Linked DNA regions of Homo sapiens: regions 2, 3, 4, 5 and 6 are each linked to region 1. Evidence: promoter capture Hi-C in 16 types of primary human blood cells and fetal thymus (Javierre and others, 2016). All regions are on one chromosome and are shown on one strand. Each heading gives the region's core, a stretch centred on a gene start or on the middle of the fragment in contact. The rest is flanking DNA. Distances are from core to core; before and after follow the strand shown.

Region 1 (2,700 bases), core at 77-2,576:
CTATCATTTCTTCCCTTCTTCCACACACCCTGCCCCTGCATAGGCTCTTCTCAAAAGAAGATTCTGAATGACGCTTTTACTTTATTTTTATTTATTTTTTTGAGAGGGTCTCACCCTCTCACCCAGGCTGGAATGCAGTGGCACCAACATGGCTCATTGCAACCTAGCCTTCCAGGCTCAATGGATCCTACTGCCTCAGCCTCCTGAGTAGCTGGGACCACAGATGTACACCATGCCCAAACAGATATATATATTTTTTTACTTTTTGTAGACATGGGGTCTCACAGTGTTGCCAAAGCTGGTCTTGAACTCCCAGGCTCAAGCAATCCTCCTGCCTTGGCCTCCCAAAGTGCTAAAATTACAGGCATGGGCCACTGCACCAGCCTGATACTTTTAAGATGTTAAGATCATACCATTCTTTTCCTCAAAATTCTATAAGAGATCTTCATCTCACATAAAATAAAAGCCAAAGTCCTTACAAAACTCTACACCACCTGTCCAATCTCAACACTTCTTGCCTTTCCTGGCTTGCTACTGACTAGGAGCATTGGAGCTGGCTGTTTGCTTTGCCAGGACAGCTTTTCTCCTTGATAACCAGCTTTTCTCAGATTAACAGCTCTTCCCTCAGATAACTAGTTTAGCCCATTACCTCCTTCAAACCTTGGCTCAATGTAACGTTTTCAATGAAGCCTACTCTGAGAATCCTATTTAAAATTGCAACGTACTTTGGGAGTCCAGGGCGGACAGATCACCTGAAATCAAGAGTACAAGACCAGCCTGGCCAACATGGTGAAACTCCATCTCTGCAAAAATACAAAAATTAGCCGGGCATGGTGGCACGTGTTTGTAGTCCCAGCTACTCAGGAGGAGGAGTTTGCAGTGATCGGAGATCGTGCCACTGCACTCCAGCCTGGGCATTAAAGCAAGGCTCCGTCTCAAAAAGATGAATGTCTCTTCATCTTCTTTTATCCTGTTCTATTTTTTTTCCATACCATGTCTTACTCTGTAGCTCACCATAATTTATTTGTATGCTCATTTTAGGTTTCCCTCAAGTAAAACGTAAACTAATCCAGGCACGGTTTTTGTTGTTGTTCCATTATTTTGAGGGCTGGGCACATAGATGCGCAAGGAGTGCCCAAACTCATCATCTCACTCTTTATACAGCTGGGCAAACTGCCTAAAGTTTCCTCAAGCCTCAGCTTTACTATTTTCTTGAATGGCTAAAACTCACAAAACACATCTAGCGTCAAAAACTTTGCGACCCCGGAAGTAAAAGGTTAAGGAAGGGGGTCACAGGAGAAGGCTATTTCCGTTTCCGTACGGAAGCAAAGGAGCCAAGACCATGGCGAAAGCCGGGGATAAGAGCAGCAGCAGCGGGAAGAAAAGTCTAAAACGGAAAGCCGCTGCCGAAGAACTTCAGGAGGCTGCAGGCGCTGGGGATGGGGCGACGGAAAACGGGGTCCAACCCCCGAAAGCGGCTGCCTTTCCGCCAGGCTTTAGCATTTCGGAGATTAAAAACAAACAGCGGCGACACTTAATGTTCACGCGGTGGAAACAGCAGCAGCGGAAGGTACGCGAGAGGCGGGGGCTGCCGGGCGCTTGCGCGTTGTTCCTGACGCTTAGGGCGGTCGCGGGGCGCACATCTGTGGTTGTCTGCTGGTCTCAAAAGTGTTCTCTGTGGCTCCGTGGGAAGGGTGGCGTCGCGGCCCACGTGTTCTGGTCCCCTCGCCCTAGTTTGGAGACTCTAGGTTCAGCCTTTTGCCTGAGCGTCAAGGTGGAAGATTATCTTGATAGGCTCTTTCCTGGGACGCTAGATTCACAAGGAAAGCTGTAAGGCCAGTTGGCTTAGTAGTGAAAACTACGCCCTCCTGGCCCAGAAGGCAAAAGTCTCAGCCCTTTGGTCCGTCTAGGTAGCGTTGGTTAATTTGCAGAATCTGAAATGGAGGCAATACGTAATAAATCCAAAATACTGCTTCTCTGATTCCTGCAGGAGCTCCTTACCGAAATTAGTACTGTAAAGTTTCTGGTAATTGTATTTGTTCTTTTCAGCTTTATCCTTATACGTTTCTGGTAGGTAAACAAACTGAAACGTAAAGAGGTTTAAACGACTTGTCAAGGTCGCAGTGCTCATTTCTGGTTAAATTGCAATTGGAAGAAAACGTTTGCTTATTCTTGCACATCGTAGAAGTTCACACAATATTATTATTATGTGTCTGCCTCCTCTTACTGGCCCTTCTGAGGCCCGGGACTGGTTCTTACTCATGTTCAGTGTCAAGGTGCTGTTTCAATACATACAAGGGGCGTTTAACTCATTCTGGTATGCACGTATTGGGGAGGGATGTCCTGGAAGACTTATTGGAGCTATGATTTCTAATCTGAAACCTGGTGGATTGAGGATCAGTAGGTGCTGGGGAAAAAAGAATATTTTTTATTTTGTCAAGCATTCTATCTAGAAATCTCCAGAAGAATATATAGATTGACAATACAAATACAGATAATCTTAAGCCACCTTGCAAGCTCTTACTAAATTTTAGAAGTATATTTTGATTATAAAATATGTGAATAACTGGTGATGGTTTTATGGAAAACAACCTGAAAACTCAGCTCCCATTCCTATTTTTAGTGCTTTTCAAGAGAAGCAAGCAGCATAACCATGGTCGTCTTTAGGATGCCACCAGTTAGGCAAAACAAAACACAGTG
Region 2 (2,700 bases), core at 44-2,543, 560 kb before region 1:
CTAAAATCTGGCATTATAATTAATACATAGCCAAAATCTATTCTGTATTAATTATCCTAAACAAATGTATCTTTATAGTACAGTATAGTATTAAAATCTTAGAGTATAATACTTCAATAAATTAGCCCATTGGACACTAAAATTTCTGGAAAGTTCATGCTGTTTTCCAGATTTCAAGTTTATGAATCATTTCTATACAGATTAGTGCAAAATGATATTAAACCTCCAGACAGAAAACTGATAATTGGACTAACAGTTTCACTTAGAAACATTCTAATGTGAGTATTTGCTGACTGGGCACTATTTAATGAAACTCTTTCAAAATTTTAATGATTGCACAAAGTATTTTTAGAACTTTATAAAGGTTTTCATTCTATAGTCATCAAAGGTAGCAAAAAGCCACAAGTGCCCTAACACCTTTCCTGCGTTCTACTAGAGTCATATTCTGAATCAAAAGGAAATTTTGTAAAAGCATATACCCCAGTGGATATTAGGCAAGCCAGGACAATACGAGTATAATAGCTACACTGAAAGAGGTATAATCAACTGTATCATTTAGTTATTTAAGAAAGGATTCTAGAAAAGGTTTTTGAAGAAACTAGAAATCTCACTGTGCAGTAGAAATGTGTAAAGTAAGTTACTCTTTGTCCCAATCTAAGGAAATTTAGCTATTGAAATCCCAAAATACTCTTATTATACATTTTTTATTAAATAATAATCTTACAATGAATTCCATGGATAGCAGTACAATATAGCCAAAAAGAAACTCAAGGAGTTCTGCTTCTGTTTAGGAGAAATATAACAGATAATACTTTCATCATAACAGCCAGAAAAGGCCAGATAAACTAAACAATCATATTTTCTAAAACATCAGAAAGCTTTACTTTAGGTAAAAAGTAATGTAAAGAAACTAAATTCCAAAGAGGAACAAGTTCTTCCTAGGTGAGCAGAGATGAGTGGCCATTTTCTTCTTTGGGGTCATCTGTCATGTCTGGACATATGTAGGCAGAGATCAAGTCTAAAATAGAGAGCTCCTACTAGGATAAAAAGAATCTTCTTGAAATGCTCCCTTTTAGAATCCTGAGCTACTATATTGAGAGGTCTGACTACCCTGCTGAGAGACTGTGTAGGGAGAAAGAGATACCAGCCAGCTCCCAGATGTTTCAGCTATCTTATCTGACACACCAGACATGTGAGTGAAGCTACCCTGGATTTCTAGCCCCAGTTGGGCATTCAGATACATGCTACTATATGATTCACCCCAGGAAAGACAAGCGGAAGAACCACTCAGCTGTGCCCAGCCACGATTGCAGAGTAATGAGCAAATAAATGAAGTGGTTTGTTATGCTATAATAGAAAACTGCTAGACCTTTTACTATGGTGTACAGATTAGAGTGTGTGTGTGTGTGTGTGTGTGTGTGTGTGTGTTTCATTTACTTCCTCTCATATGCTAGATCTACATAGCATCAAGAAAAAGTATTATGTAATGTTTGTTATAATCCAAAAAATAAAAACGCTACAAACCACTAGGTTAATTCCATGGGTTTCTTTATCCAGTTACATATACACATCTATGTAAGAAGATACGTTATTATAATATATTGATATTACAACATAATATCACAATTCTCTACTCCATAATTTTTCTTGGTAGATATCTTATGAAGTAAGTTGGTTCATCATGAAATGTTACCAACTGTTAAAATAGAAAGCTTGGGGAAAGCATATCTTAAAAGTAAAATGTTTTTATATGTCGGACCAAGGTGGCTTGTCTGTAAAGACATATTGTTTAGCTTTATTCTTTTTTCTCTATATAAACATTCATTCTCTTACCTTCATCCTTTTCAAAGGATTATTCAACTCTCGCTGGAATGAAGCTGCTCTTCCTGAAAGGAAGGTCTGAAAGGCAACAGCTAACAAATTTTCATACTTTTCAAGTAATGCTTTATCTTCAGGAGGATAAATTCGTCTACAACAAAATCAGATAAACCAATTTTTTAAAAAGAAGCTGTCGTAGCTCAATAGTTAACATCAACTCCATAGACAATCCTTGACCATCTATTCTATACCAGTCACATTGCCAGGTATAAGCATTTCTATACTGATTAGTGCAAAATGATATTAAATATTAAACCTCCAGACAGAAAACTGATAACTGGCCTAATAGATTCACTTAGTAACTTTCTAATGTGAGTATTTGCTGACTGGGCACTAATTAATAAAATTCTTTCAAAACTTTAATGATTGCACAAGAGTATTTTTAGAACTTTATGAAGGTTTTCAGTCTATTCATTAATAGTGGCACAAATCCACAAACAAAGTTTATCTAGAGAATTAGCATTAAACAATGCAGTTCCAGAAGGTACAGTATAAGGGTTTAGTTGGGGGGAAATGGTTGGGGAAGAATGGTGATTGGGCAAATTGGAGAAATACTGAACTTTATAGGAGAGTGTTCAGGTAATAAGGGATACTGCAGGAGTGTTTTTACTTAGTGTGGTTACTGAAGTATACAAAAATGTAAGCAGTGGTTCTGATGATCTCTTTTGTAGTGGTGGAATTTGCCTCTCTAGTAGAGAGAAGTGGGTAGAGGTAGAGTGGGAGGAATGTGTTCTTATCACTACTGTTGATGGTGTTAAGGCCATGAAAGAACATCTTACCATGAGTGCAAGAACGCCCTCACACATTCCTTTATCCTGCTCA
Region 3 (2,700 bases), core at 98-2,597, 770 kb after region 1:
CTTTATACCAAAATTATTACCCTCATCAATTAATGTTTCTCTCAGAGTTTCCCAATAAAAAACAAGAATTAACTTTTAGAGCTCTGATTTTTAAATGCAAGTGAAAGTGAGCAATTTTTTTTTTCAATTGCAGCCATACAAAATTCACAAAGTAACTCTTTAGGTGCTATACTAAGGTAGCTTAAAATAAGTGACTTTACTTCCCCCAAATCAGACTTTTGAAAAAGGCTCCCAAATACTCAGCAAGCTTGTCCAACCTGCCTTATTTGTTGTTGTTGTTCTGTTTTGTTTTAGGCTTTTAGCAGCCTGAAGCCATGGTTTTTAGTTTCTGTCTCTAGTGATAAGCAGAAAAGAAGGATGATGAAGGGGCTTTATTGGCCCAACCAATAACAGAAACTAAGAACTCATGACTGTATTCTCTCCCTTGGACACCACTGCATGATAGTATTTACATTGTATATATTAAAATACAATCAATGCTTTGTAAGAATGGAGCATATTGTTTTCTTTTTACAAAAAATAGGTATCACTCTAACGATGACATTATTTAAGTGGCTATCAGCTGTCCTTTTCCTTTCAATCTGCTTTCTCTCCTCCAAAAACAACTTCTTCTGCCCCATCACCTTCTCCACCCACCCCAAATCCTTATTTTGAGGTTAAAAAGCACTCACAAGTAGGTTTCCCCAAACCTCTATTTGGAATTTTATTCTAGTAAGTTCTAATTCCCATCCCCGCCCTCCCCATCCCCACTCCCACGATGGCCAGAACATTTTAATGGCAACAGAAAAATACATATCTTCCTACTTCATATTATGGAGAATTTGGAGAGGGGAGGGAGGTTAGAGAAGAGCCTTACATTAAAACAATGTTCTTTACACCTTTCCAAAATGTTAATAGTATCTGTAGCCACAGAAAATTTCCAATTCATAAAAATGTTGTCAAACCTGGAAAAGTGAACTCTTTTATTGTATTTTAAAAAATCCAACTACATGGTTAAAAAAAAAATACAGGGTAGCACAGACTAGTTGCTAATTCCATCTCCCTAAGCAAATGTGTGGTATTAAGAACTCCATATAGACAGAGTAACATGGAAAAGATGTTATGATTTATAAAATACAAATTTATTTTGAGCACATTACTAATTAATTGTAGCTTTTGACTTTATTTTCTTGATCAACAGATACTCAAAAAGTTCAACAGGTTATCATGTGGAGATCTATAAAATATCTTGATATTGAAAGGAGCCTTCATTATTAAAAAATGTGAGGAACTACTGACATCAAATCATAAATTCCTTGAAGGAAATATTAAAATCTTAAGCCTTCAATTCCCTTCTGCTGACTGTACCATAATCAGAATATCTCATTTATTGATGCAGATAACAATCAATACCATTCATCTTCACTCCCCTTCAAGCACAGCACGGTGATGTTATTCATATGCTTCACAGAGCACTATGGATTTATGTAGGCAGTGGAATAAAATACAATTCAGATCAACTCACCCCAGGAATTTACAAATCAAAGTTTTAATCAGTAGTTCATCATGTTCATACAAAAACACTGGCTCCACAAACCAAATAACATGGTATACCACCAAAACAAGCCAAACGTTTTGCTTTTTTTTTTTTTTGAGATGGAGTCTTGCTCTGTTGCCCAGGATGGAGTGCAGTGGCACCATCTCAGCTCATTGTAATCTCCACCTCCCAGGTTCACGCCATTCTCCTGCCTCAGCCTCCCAAGCAGCTGGGACTACAGGTGCCTGCCATCACACCCAGCTAATTTTTTGTATTTTTAGTAGAGACGGGGTTTCACGGTGTTAACCAGGATGGTCTCTATCTCCTGACCTCGTGATCCACCCACCTCGGCCTCCCAAAGTGCTGGGATTACAGGCGTGAGCCACCGCACCCGGCACCTTTTGCTTTTTAACGAGTTAATTATCACTAAGCTCCTCTTTTGAGATTTTCAGTAGTGATAATATAAAAATGGAAAGTACTAAGTTTACTATAATATTCACTATGCATTAGCATACATTTAGATGATACTGAGATATTTTTGCTTTTAATTTGCCACTTATTACAAGTAAATTAACTGAATAACAAAACCACAAACTACTGAAGTTAAAAAGTAACTGGCTATCAGTGATTTGAGCAGAAGTGCTATGCCATCTAGTGTCATGACAAGGCATTGCTTTATAAACTAGAGTAGGAAAAAATCTGAGCAATGTTCATTTATCAATTTTACTGAGCTTTTTTACTCGGTCTCATATAGTATAGATGTACTGGTAAGGAAACAATTTTTTTATTATGGAACTCAAATCACTCAAGTAAGTTTAACTTATCAATAGACAAACTTTCTAAATTCTAAAAAGTGTAAACTAAAAATCACTATATTAATTATGCTTTTACAATTAATTATTATACATGTCAATAAAGCTACAACTAATAACTAAGCTTTGCTTACCTACATTTTACAACCACTAAAACCAGAAGTGGCAGGGTGCGGTGGCTCACACCTGTAATCCCAGCACTTTGGGAGGCTGAAGCGGGCGGATCACGAGGTCAGGAGATCGAGACCACCCTGGCCAACATGCTGAAACCCCATCTCCACTAAAAATACAAAAATTAGCTGGGCGTGGTGGCGTGTGCCTGTAGTCCCAGCTACTTGGCAGGCTGAGGCAGGAGAATCGCTTGAACCCGGG
Region 4 (2,700 bases), core at 74-2,573, 530 kb before region 1:
AACACCTCCATATTTTGTAACATAGTTAAGTCAATTTCCCTACCTCCTTCTTGAGGCAGAGATGGCATTATTGCCTGTGCTGATTAGCAAGCAGTGTGTGCTGCTGTACCAAGCTCTCAGGAAATCTGGAAATTCCACATTAGTCTAAGTAGGATATGGCCCCAAATCACTGAAAGTTCTTATCATATTATCTTGGTGGAATCCTCAGATTTCAGGATACCAAAGTTATGGGATAACAAGGTACCTGCAGTGATTTTAAAACAAGGTCATTTAGAAAAAACTTTTTTGAATTTTTTTTCATATATGCCAAGACTATTCTTTTTAAAAGTCAAGGTGAAAGTTAATGTGTTCAATCAACAAATAATTGTAAATCGGTTTATTAAACCTTACGCAAAATGCCAAGTGATGCTTTCCTATCCTGAAAGAATGCATAGTCTAGGGGAAGAAGTTTTATTAAGTCACGTGTCACATGTATATTCAATAAATAATATACTATACACAAACAATAACAGCAATAACAATATTCACTACTATTTATTGAACACTTATTATCTTAGGCATTTATATTATACCATTTAATCTTTCAACAAACCTGTAAGGTAGAAGCTTTTATCCCCATCTTACAGATAAGTTGAGCTTAGAAAGGACAAATTATTTTGTGTATCTTTACAAAGAAAATTACAACACAGAGATTAAAATGAAGATTCTTCTAATGTCAATGCCAGAGTGTCTTATTTAGAAACCCACACAACCTTCAACCCAATGCCTGAAACACTGCTTTTAATATGAGACAGTGAAAAGTGCCAGGCAGGGTAGAGGTCACATGTTGACAGAATGCAGAGAAGTGATTCCTATATAAAGGATTATGGGGGACAACTTAATAAAGTAAACCACATCTTGAATTGTGCCTTAAAAAATGAGAACAGTTTTGAAGGACAGAAAATGGGTGGGGTCATTATTATGATGATTTTATTCAGGCACACAGAGGAATGCAACAATCAATGAATTAATTTGATCTGGCTACATCTCAACATGGCCTATAGTACACTTTGCTTGTATTTTCATTGTAAATATATGAACGTAGGCATTTATGCCCTAACAATACCATATTGTTCAGTCTGTACTATCAACTTTCTAATTTCTCCTTATTGTAAGAATCCTTCAGTTCTTGTAAAATATCTATAAACACAATGAAAAATAAAACCTATTATGATAAGCAAAGGTATAATATCAACACCTTTATTAGATTGTCAAGTTTATCAGAAATTCAGAAACATCCAACATTCAGCTACATAAAACGTGAGTCCTATATCACTCCAAATATTCATTATTATTAATGTTTCAATATTAAAGAAAATTTAGGGTTTTATTTGTTCTCAGGTATCATTTTTACTAAAATGATTGTCTAGTATAATTCAATATCAAAACGGGGAACTTTTATTTATTACAGACCAACTGTAGGTAGGCATTTTATTAAGCATTTTAAATATTTTATTTCATTAACAAACTTTAAATTTAGGTATCATTTCTCCCTATTTTCCAGAAAAAGAAACTAAGGCTAGATAAGTTAAACAAATCAAGGTAACATGGCTTAGAAATAGAAAACTTAGACTTTAAACCCAATTCTAATTATTCTATTCATTAAGCTCCCCTATTTTCAGACCCCATGCTAACATAATATATAGACATATGAGAAGTTTCCAACCCTACTGCAGTACATGCCGCAAGATATGGCCATATTCTGGGAATTTGCAATACTTCAAACAGTGAATTCACAGTAAAACATCTCTAAACTGATCTCAGCTCCCAATGCCAAGCTGGAAACAGACTGGATCACTTCTCAGAATAAAAGAAAGGAGTAGTGTAAAGTTTAGTTCAGTTTCTTTCTGGAGGCTCTCTGAAACCTCAGGGAAGTAACTATTTGAGTTTACAAGTTTTTTGTCCAACATCTTGTTACTGGAGTAAACAAAGATCCCCTTTACAGTAACAGAATACTTATTACATTGAAAGTAGGTGACAAAGTCAACAAGACTTTAAAAACAAGCTTCACCTAACTATACTAGATTCTAAAAACAAATTTGTTAGTTTTTGACTTAAATAATAAGTCAAATGGCTGATTTGTACAGAGTTCAAAACAAGAACTTTTATCCCTTCCCCAAGGCATACAGGAATTTAAAGTTCTTAAAATTATACTATGCATATATGCGCTTTACTTAATTCCATTTATGCCTTAGTCAAAGTGCTTTAACAAACTCAAGGACTTCATTCAACCATGGCAATTCTAATCAGCTTTATTCTAAGCAAGAGATTTGAGATGACGGATTTATCCCACCACTCATTTGAAACCATAGTTACCTACTTTCCAAAAGCAGAAAACATGTTTCAGTTACCTCTGAAATGCTTTAAGCCAATGGCTTCTCAACCTTGGCTGCAAAGCAGAATTGCCTGAATGAGGAGCTTTTGAAAATCCTGCTGTCCAGGCCACACCCCAGAACTAAGTGGGGCCCAACCATCAGCATTTCTAAAGCTCTTCATGTGATTCCAGTGCAGCTAAGGTTGAGAACCTCTACTGTAAGCACACGATGACAATGCAACAAATAATAGCTAATTATAACAACACATGAAATTATAAGAAAAAAAGTAAAAGAAAACTCATAACTTTTTTAAAAAGACCAAATAGGTAAAAATTACCCACAAAAA
Region 5 (2,700 bases), core at 140-2,639, 580 kb before region 1:
GTGAGACTGACATGGTCTGGGCAAACTAGGCACATTCTCCTTCCTGTCCAGAGCAAACCACTGGGAACACGCATTCCTCTTTGCTTCTCTTTGCTTTCAGTTTTCAAGGAGCCTCCGCAAGAAGGCAAGCTTTGGTCCTCGGAGACCCACCCCTATAATTTGGAGGGCATGGAACAACAGACTGAGGGAACAGGAACCCAAATCCTTCAACTCTCCTCTGAGTCTTCACATAAGCTCCTTCCTCTGCCTGAAACAGTCTTCTCCTATCTCTTCATCTGATAAACTTCTATGTTTCACTTCAAATGCCACTTCTAAGGAAAACTTTACCTGCCACTGAACTATTGTTTGATATCTTAATGCCCAGTTCTTCCTTTATTAGCAAGCACCTTATTTTATTTTAATTTCCTGTTTAATTAATGGAGACTGTTATGCATATAAAGGGAGTAAACTGTGCCCATCTTGATAATAAAGTTACCAGGTCCCCAAGGCTTAAGACAAGGTCTATCATTTAGTAGGTTCCTGTCTTAGTAAGTCATTCCTTGCAAGAAAGTCACACCTATGTAGACAAGGTAAAAAATCATTGAGAGAACTTACCATGTGCCAAGCACTGTTCTAAGCACTTTTACATATATTAACTCATTTAGTCCTCAAAACAAAAACATGAGGTAGATACTATTGGTCCACAGTCCCTTTCCAAAAATCTCAAGCTTAGATTCCATAATCATACATATTATTAATTCTGCAGGAAAAAAATGTAAATATTCAAACCAAGAGATAGACAAAATCAATACATAACTTCTTGTCAGGTCATTGTCACCAAATGAATTCAGGTAGGTTAGGTTTTGCTGCCTAGGGGTTATGAAAATTTTTTTGGTCGTGAAAACATTTTGGATCCCCATTTTATGGATGAGAAAACTCAGGCACAAAGCAGATAAGTAACTTGCCCAAGATTACCCAGCTCATTGTATCCAGACCTACGCTCTTAACTACATCCAGCACTGCCTCACAATTTAGATTTTCCAGATGCCAGCAGCAAAAGCCTAGAGAGAACCCCATTATCTCTTCTTAGATTCAGATTCATTTCTAGTCAAATGGTATTTGGGAGGAGAGTGGGATCACTGTGTAAAAACAAGGTTGCCTAGGCACCCCCTCCTTTATGGCCACGGAGTAAGGAATAGTTTGTTTAGAAGGCTATACAGATGGGGAGACAATGACTGTACTTTTAGCCAAATACTCACTTAATAATTTTAAGAAAGCACAGACCAGGCAGGCAAGAAATCAGACTGGAATGAGATAAATTAGTGCTAGTTCTACCTGTGATGCTTTTTTGGATTTCTGGTCCTTTGGGGATTGAAGAAATTGGATGGAAGATGAATAATTCGTGAAACACAAAAATAAATGATCAGCAAGGTGCCCTTGTGTTATCTGTGGGCTTACGTGAGGCTAATTTATAGAATATAGGTATCCATTTCCTTACATTATGACTTTTAAAAGCATCCCAATCCAACATTAAGCTCTCCAAGGGAAAAAACAAATGGGAGATTCAGTCAATGACAACATTAATAAAATGAAAAGATTTGTCTTTTCCATGTGAAATATAGCACATTTGAAGGCATAAAGCACACAGACAAATTCATATTTTGCAAAAGCATACAGATGTTGAATGACAAACTGCTCCATATGGCCGAACAGTTGGTCCTAAATTAAAATAATGGCACGAGGTGAAGGCGGTTTAGAAATAACATTAAAATCACTACATGCTGTACTAATGATGCATGCAGCAGCGATGGCTATAGGGTAAAGGCATCTTTGCTGATGCAAAACGAACAGCTCTGAACAGCATCTATGTCAGCCTGAATAAAACAGAGACGGAAAATAGTATCATCAAAATGCATGCAGAAGCAGCCACAGTAGGTATTAAAAATAAATTGCTATTTAGAGAAGTAATACTTGATAAACAAGGACCTCTTAGCACCCTAAAATAAATGCAAATACAGTACAACCTTAATGTCATTAGTTATTTCTCTTCATCCTCCACTCTTAGTTTATGTTTAGGTATCACATCAGATAATAAGCTTTTCAGCAAATCTGGCATTCTTTGCAGCCCACCAACATGACTATATTTTCATACTTCATATATATTCCTCACAAACTATATAAAGCAACTGCATTCTTGGCAGAAAGCTAAATTATGCAAGTATGGAGTTACCACAACATGACATTAAATAAGATTAACTATTTCCATTTTCACCTGGTGAGGGTTCTTTTCAGGATTTAATTCCCATACCCTTGATCTTTACATTTTACATCCATTAAGGAAAATTTGAAGGCAAATAATTTTTTTTTAATTTCCAAGAACAGAAAAAAGGAAAGCATGTGAAAGACTCTGTGTGTATGTCATTCTAATCTTGGAGCTTTACAACAGGCTAATAACCACAAATGCCTCAATCCTGGAACAGGAAAAGTGGTATATATATTTCCATAATGGTCTCTAAATGGAATTAAGATACTTAAATAAGAGTCTTGTGCTTCCATACCTTGAATAGTGCCTGGGGCATGGTAGTCCCTCAATAAATATCTGTTGAATGCATGATTAAGTGAGCAAATAAATGAATGAGTAAACAACTCTCAAAATCCCTAACAGTGTCTAGCATATTATTTGTATAAAATTGGCAATCAATAAATGTTTGTTAAATTAAA
Region 6 (2,700 bases), core at 23-2,522, 520 kb after region 1:
AGAAAAGAATGTGGCTACCTCAAACACTTTATTAGGATTCACTCATTTTTTATTACAGGAGGTTAAATAAAATTGGTATTATGATGGCCTCTGTATGGAAAATGTGTCGTTTTTAGAGTTCCGGCCACAGAAACTGACCTATGAACGGTTTTCTAAAGGAGAAGGGTGTGCCTGTGGAAAGTTCACGGCAACGGGAGTTTGACTCCTCTTAAGGTATGAAGAGGAAGACAGGCTAAAGTCTCAAGAAACTTCTGACTCAATAGGGGAAAGCTATCAAATTTCCCAAAAGTTGTGCGATTTTGGTTAGCACATCACAAAGGTGATGAGCAGCTCCTGAGAGTGAAACCCACATCCCATTTCTGGGGAGAACTACGTAGTTGGTTCCCTCTACATAAAATATCAGAGTCTACATCCTGACACCCATAAGAAACCTCTCCCACCTTTCTCTTACTAACCTTTTCTTCCATTCTCAGTTTACAATGACACACAATTTTGTTTCCCACAAGTACCGTTCAACCAGAGACACACACACTTACACATACGTATATATTTCATATATATATATATATATATATATATATATATATATATGTTTGGAGAGCAGGAAACGGGGGAGCCAAGGTCTGTTTGTACTCACAACTTTGGCTCAACTGTGCTGGGGTGGCTGGAGGTTTGACCACGGAGGAGGGGCCCGCTGGCAGCGCCAACCGGCTGAACTGTGCGCCTTTTCATAAAGGCCGAGGAACTGGGGTTAGCCACACTACAACCCTCCCACCTGAGGGAAAGGCCTGTTTGTTCTGGAAGGCACAGCCTAGCCTTATTTAACTAACTGCAAGCAGTTAATATAAGCATTCCCAAGGCAGCAAGCAAGCTCTAGTCTACGAAAGTAAAGCCATCGACTTTAGGAAGATTTCTCCAGTCCAGCATCCTGAAAGATGAAGCCCAGACTCCTCACCTGACGGTTAACCTGAAAACACCTGATCCTCTCTCCGGAATCCTTGCCTGGGGAAAACGATAAGGCTGCCGGGCCATGCCTCCTCCTTCAAAACTTTCCAGGGCTCTCGGGATTCGGAACAGGAAACACCGTTCACGGCCGACTCATTTCGCCCTCGCCGTAACGCGTCCGCCGAAGTTGGAGCCCTGCAAAGCGGGGTTCCCTTCTCTTACCCTTTCTGCCGGCCGCGTGGTGCGCGCAGACCCCGGCCCGAGAGCAGGCGCCGCAGTCGTGGAGTGCGGCGGGCAGTTCTCGGGCGGCTGAAAGGCGGCTCTGTGTGCACCCTGCAGGATGCGGCGCGTGGCCAGGCGCTCCCGCCCCGCCCCCAAGGGGCTGCCCCGCCCCGCCCCGCCCCGCCGCCTCCTACCGGGGACCGGAGCTTCCCCAGTTGGGGTCCTAGGGGACTTATTCCACGCTTCAGCGGACCAGCCTCCCCGCGCTCCCGGAGAAGGGGGTCGGCGACGCGGAGGCGGGGTGGGGGCCGTAGGGGATGGAACCGAGGCGCGCGCGAGAAGAGCCGAGGAAGTAAGCAGTCCCAAAAGGGGGCGGCGGTGGGGCCCCCAGGGAGGCGTGGGGCACGCCAAGGGCGCCGTGGGGCACTGACCTGTGGTGCGGCCCCCAGGACAGGCCCGAGGCGCGGTTGCACACCGGCAGGTCCAGCACCTCCATGCCTCGAGGCATGGCGCGGCCAGGGAGCGGCAGGAGGACACCTAGCGTGGGACGGCTACACCTGTCTGGGCGCAGGCCCGCCGCCCTTGCACTCTCCACCCAAGTGCCCAACGCTGCGGTACGGCCCGCTTTGGCTCGGGGTGTCTGCCGGAGAAGCGCCTTACAGAGGGACCCGGGCGGTGGGCCCTGCGGCAAAGTGGCCCACGCACCCTCCACACCGCTCCCGGGCGGCCGCACCTGGCACTCCCGGCCCTCTGGGGTTCCTGCCTTTTTCGGGGGGGTGGTGGTGAGACCGGGTCTCACTCTGTCGCCTGACCTGCGATCACTGCTGACTGCAGTCTTGAACTCCTGGACCCAAGCGATTCTCCTGCCTCCGCCTCCCAAAGTGCTAGGATTACAGGTGTAAGCCGCTGCGCCTGGCCCCTTCTTTTCTTCACTCTCTCATGCATTCATTTCTTGTTTCCACATGCATTAATTTGTCCGTTGCTTTGGTCATTCCTGTTTTGATGCTTAGGGAAACACTCACTGAGAGCCAAGCCGACCGTTGGGTACTGTGGTCTCTGGGATGACAAAGACATGGTCCTTTCCCTTGAGGACTTCACATTAAACTGACAAGTTCATTCATTCTGGCTTTTCTCTAAAGTGCACGATCATGAAAGTCTGTGACAAGGGCCATATTTCTGAGATGTTAGAAAGTGCGACCGGCGCGCAAGGAATAGGAAAAGCGAGTTGCCCTGCGCCCGCGTCGGGATGAAAGGCAGGGAGCCGGGAGGGAGCGTCAGCGTGGCCCGGCGGGCGCGGAGGGAGGGCGCACGGCCCCAGGGCTGGACTCGTAACCCCAGCGCCCTGCTGCAGCCGCCGTTGCTTTTCCCTCTTGGTGCACGAAAGGAAGACGCCTGTGGGAAATCGAACAGACAATCGGTCGCCGTTCGTGAATCTTAGAGATGAGAGTCGTCAGTACATGACCAAAAGCCGTGTTCGGCTCCTAGTGATGTTAGCTTGGTAGTTTGGACGTGGCCGACAGCCTCCTAGAGCTC

Evidence for each region. Contacts are between HindIII fragments. The CHiCAGO score rates a contact against its expected background, and 5 or more counts as called.
Region 2: a contact is called between a fragment that was not itself captured here and the fragment with the promoter of RPF1 in region 1, in 6 of 17 cell types (erythroblasts, megakaryocytes, M2 macrophages and 3 more). The highest score is 11.4, in erythroblasts.
Region 3: a contact is called between a fragment that was not itself captured here and the fragment with the promoter of RPF1 in region 1, in 2 of 17 cell types (total CD8 T cells and activated CD4 T cells). The highest score is 5.6, in total CD8 T cells.
Region 4: a contact is called between a fragment that was not itself captured here and the fragment with the promoter of RPF1 in region 1, in 2 of 17 cell types (erythroblasts and endothelial precursors). The highest score is 6.2, in erythroblasts.
Region 5: a fragment that was not itself captured here is called in contact with the fragment with the promoter of RPF1 in region 1 in 2 of 17 cell types (erythroblasts and endothelial precursors); the score reaches 6.4 in erythroblasts.
Region 6: the fragment with the promoter of MCOLN2 here is called in contact with the fragment with the promoter of RPF1 in region 1 in 1 of 17 cell types (naive CD8 T cells); the score reaches 5.9 in naive CD8 T cells.

The regions. Positions count from the first base shown.
Region 1 is chr1:84,477,940-84,480,639 of GRCh38, forward strand. RPF1 (ribosome production factor 1 homolog) reads left to right here and starts at 1,327. Exons shown (of 9, transcript NM_025065.7): 1 at 1,327-1,570. The coding sequence starts at 1,343. RefSeq lists enhancers at 988-1,548, 1,744-1,903. The HindIII fragment of the contact is 6,088 bases long and covers 1-2,700 here.
Region 2 is chr1:83,917,866-83,920,565 of GRCh38, forward strand. It overlaps TTLL7 (tubulin tyrosine ligase like 7), which reads right to left. Exons shown (of 21, transcript NM_024686.6): 13 at 1,834-1,969. Among named protein-coding and RNA genes, the nearest start is that of LINC01725, 58 kb to the left of the region's middle. The HindIII fragment of the contact is 834 bases long and covers 877-1,710 here.
Region 3 is chr1:85,252,778-85,255,477 of GRCh38, forward strand. The region is part of intron 2 of C1orf52 (chromosome 1 open reading frame 52); the gene reads right to left. Among named protein-coding and RNA genes, the nearest start is that of C1orf52, 5.5 kb to the right of the region's middle. The HindIII fragment of the contact is 2,205 bases long and covers 246-2,450 here.
Region 4 is chr1:83,952,144-83,954,843 of GRCh38, forward strand. It overlaps TTLL7 (tubulin tyrosine ligase like 7), which reads right to left. Exons shown (of 21, transcript NM_024686.6): 2 at 44-244. The coding sequence starts at 68. Among named protein-coding and RNA genes, the nearest start is that of TTLL7-IT1, 31 kb to the right of the region's middle. The HindIII fragment of the contact is 1,438 bases long and covers 605-2,042 here.
Region 5 is chr1:83,894,762-83,897,461 of GRCh38, forward strand. The region is part of intron 18 of TTLL7 (tubulin tyrosine ligase like 7); the gene reads right to left. Among named protein-coding and RNA genes, the nearest start is that of LINC01725, 35 kb to the left of the region's middle. The HindIII fragment of the contact is 1,368 bases long and covers 706-2,073 here.
Region 6 is chr1:84,995,841-84,998,540 of GRCh38, forward strand. MCOLN2 (mucolipin TRP cation channel 2) reads right to left here and starts at 1,273. Exons shown (of 14, transcript NM_153259.4): 1 at 956-1,273. The coding sequence starts at 1,032. RefSeq lists silencers at 616-665, 1,276-1,565 and an enhancer at 2,136-2,700. The HindIII fragment of the contact is 4,780 bases long and covers 1-2,700 here.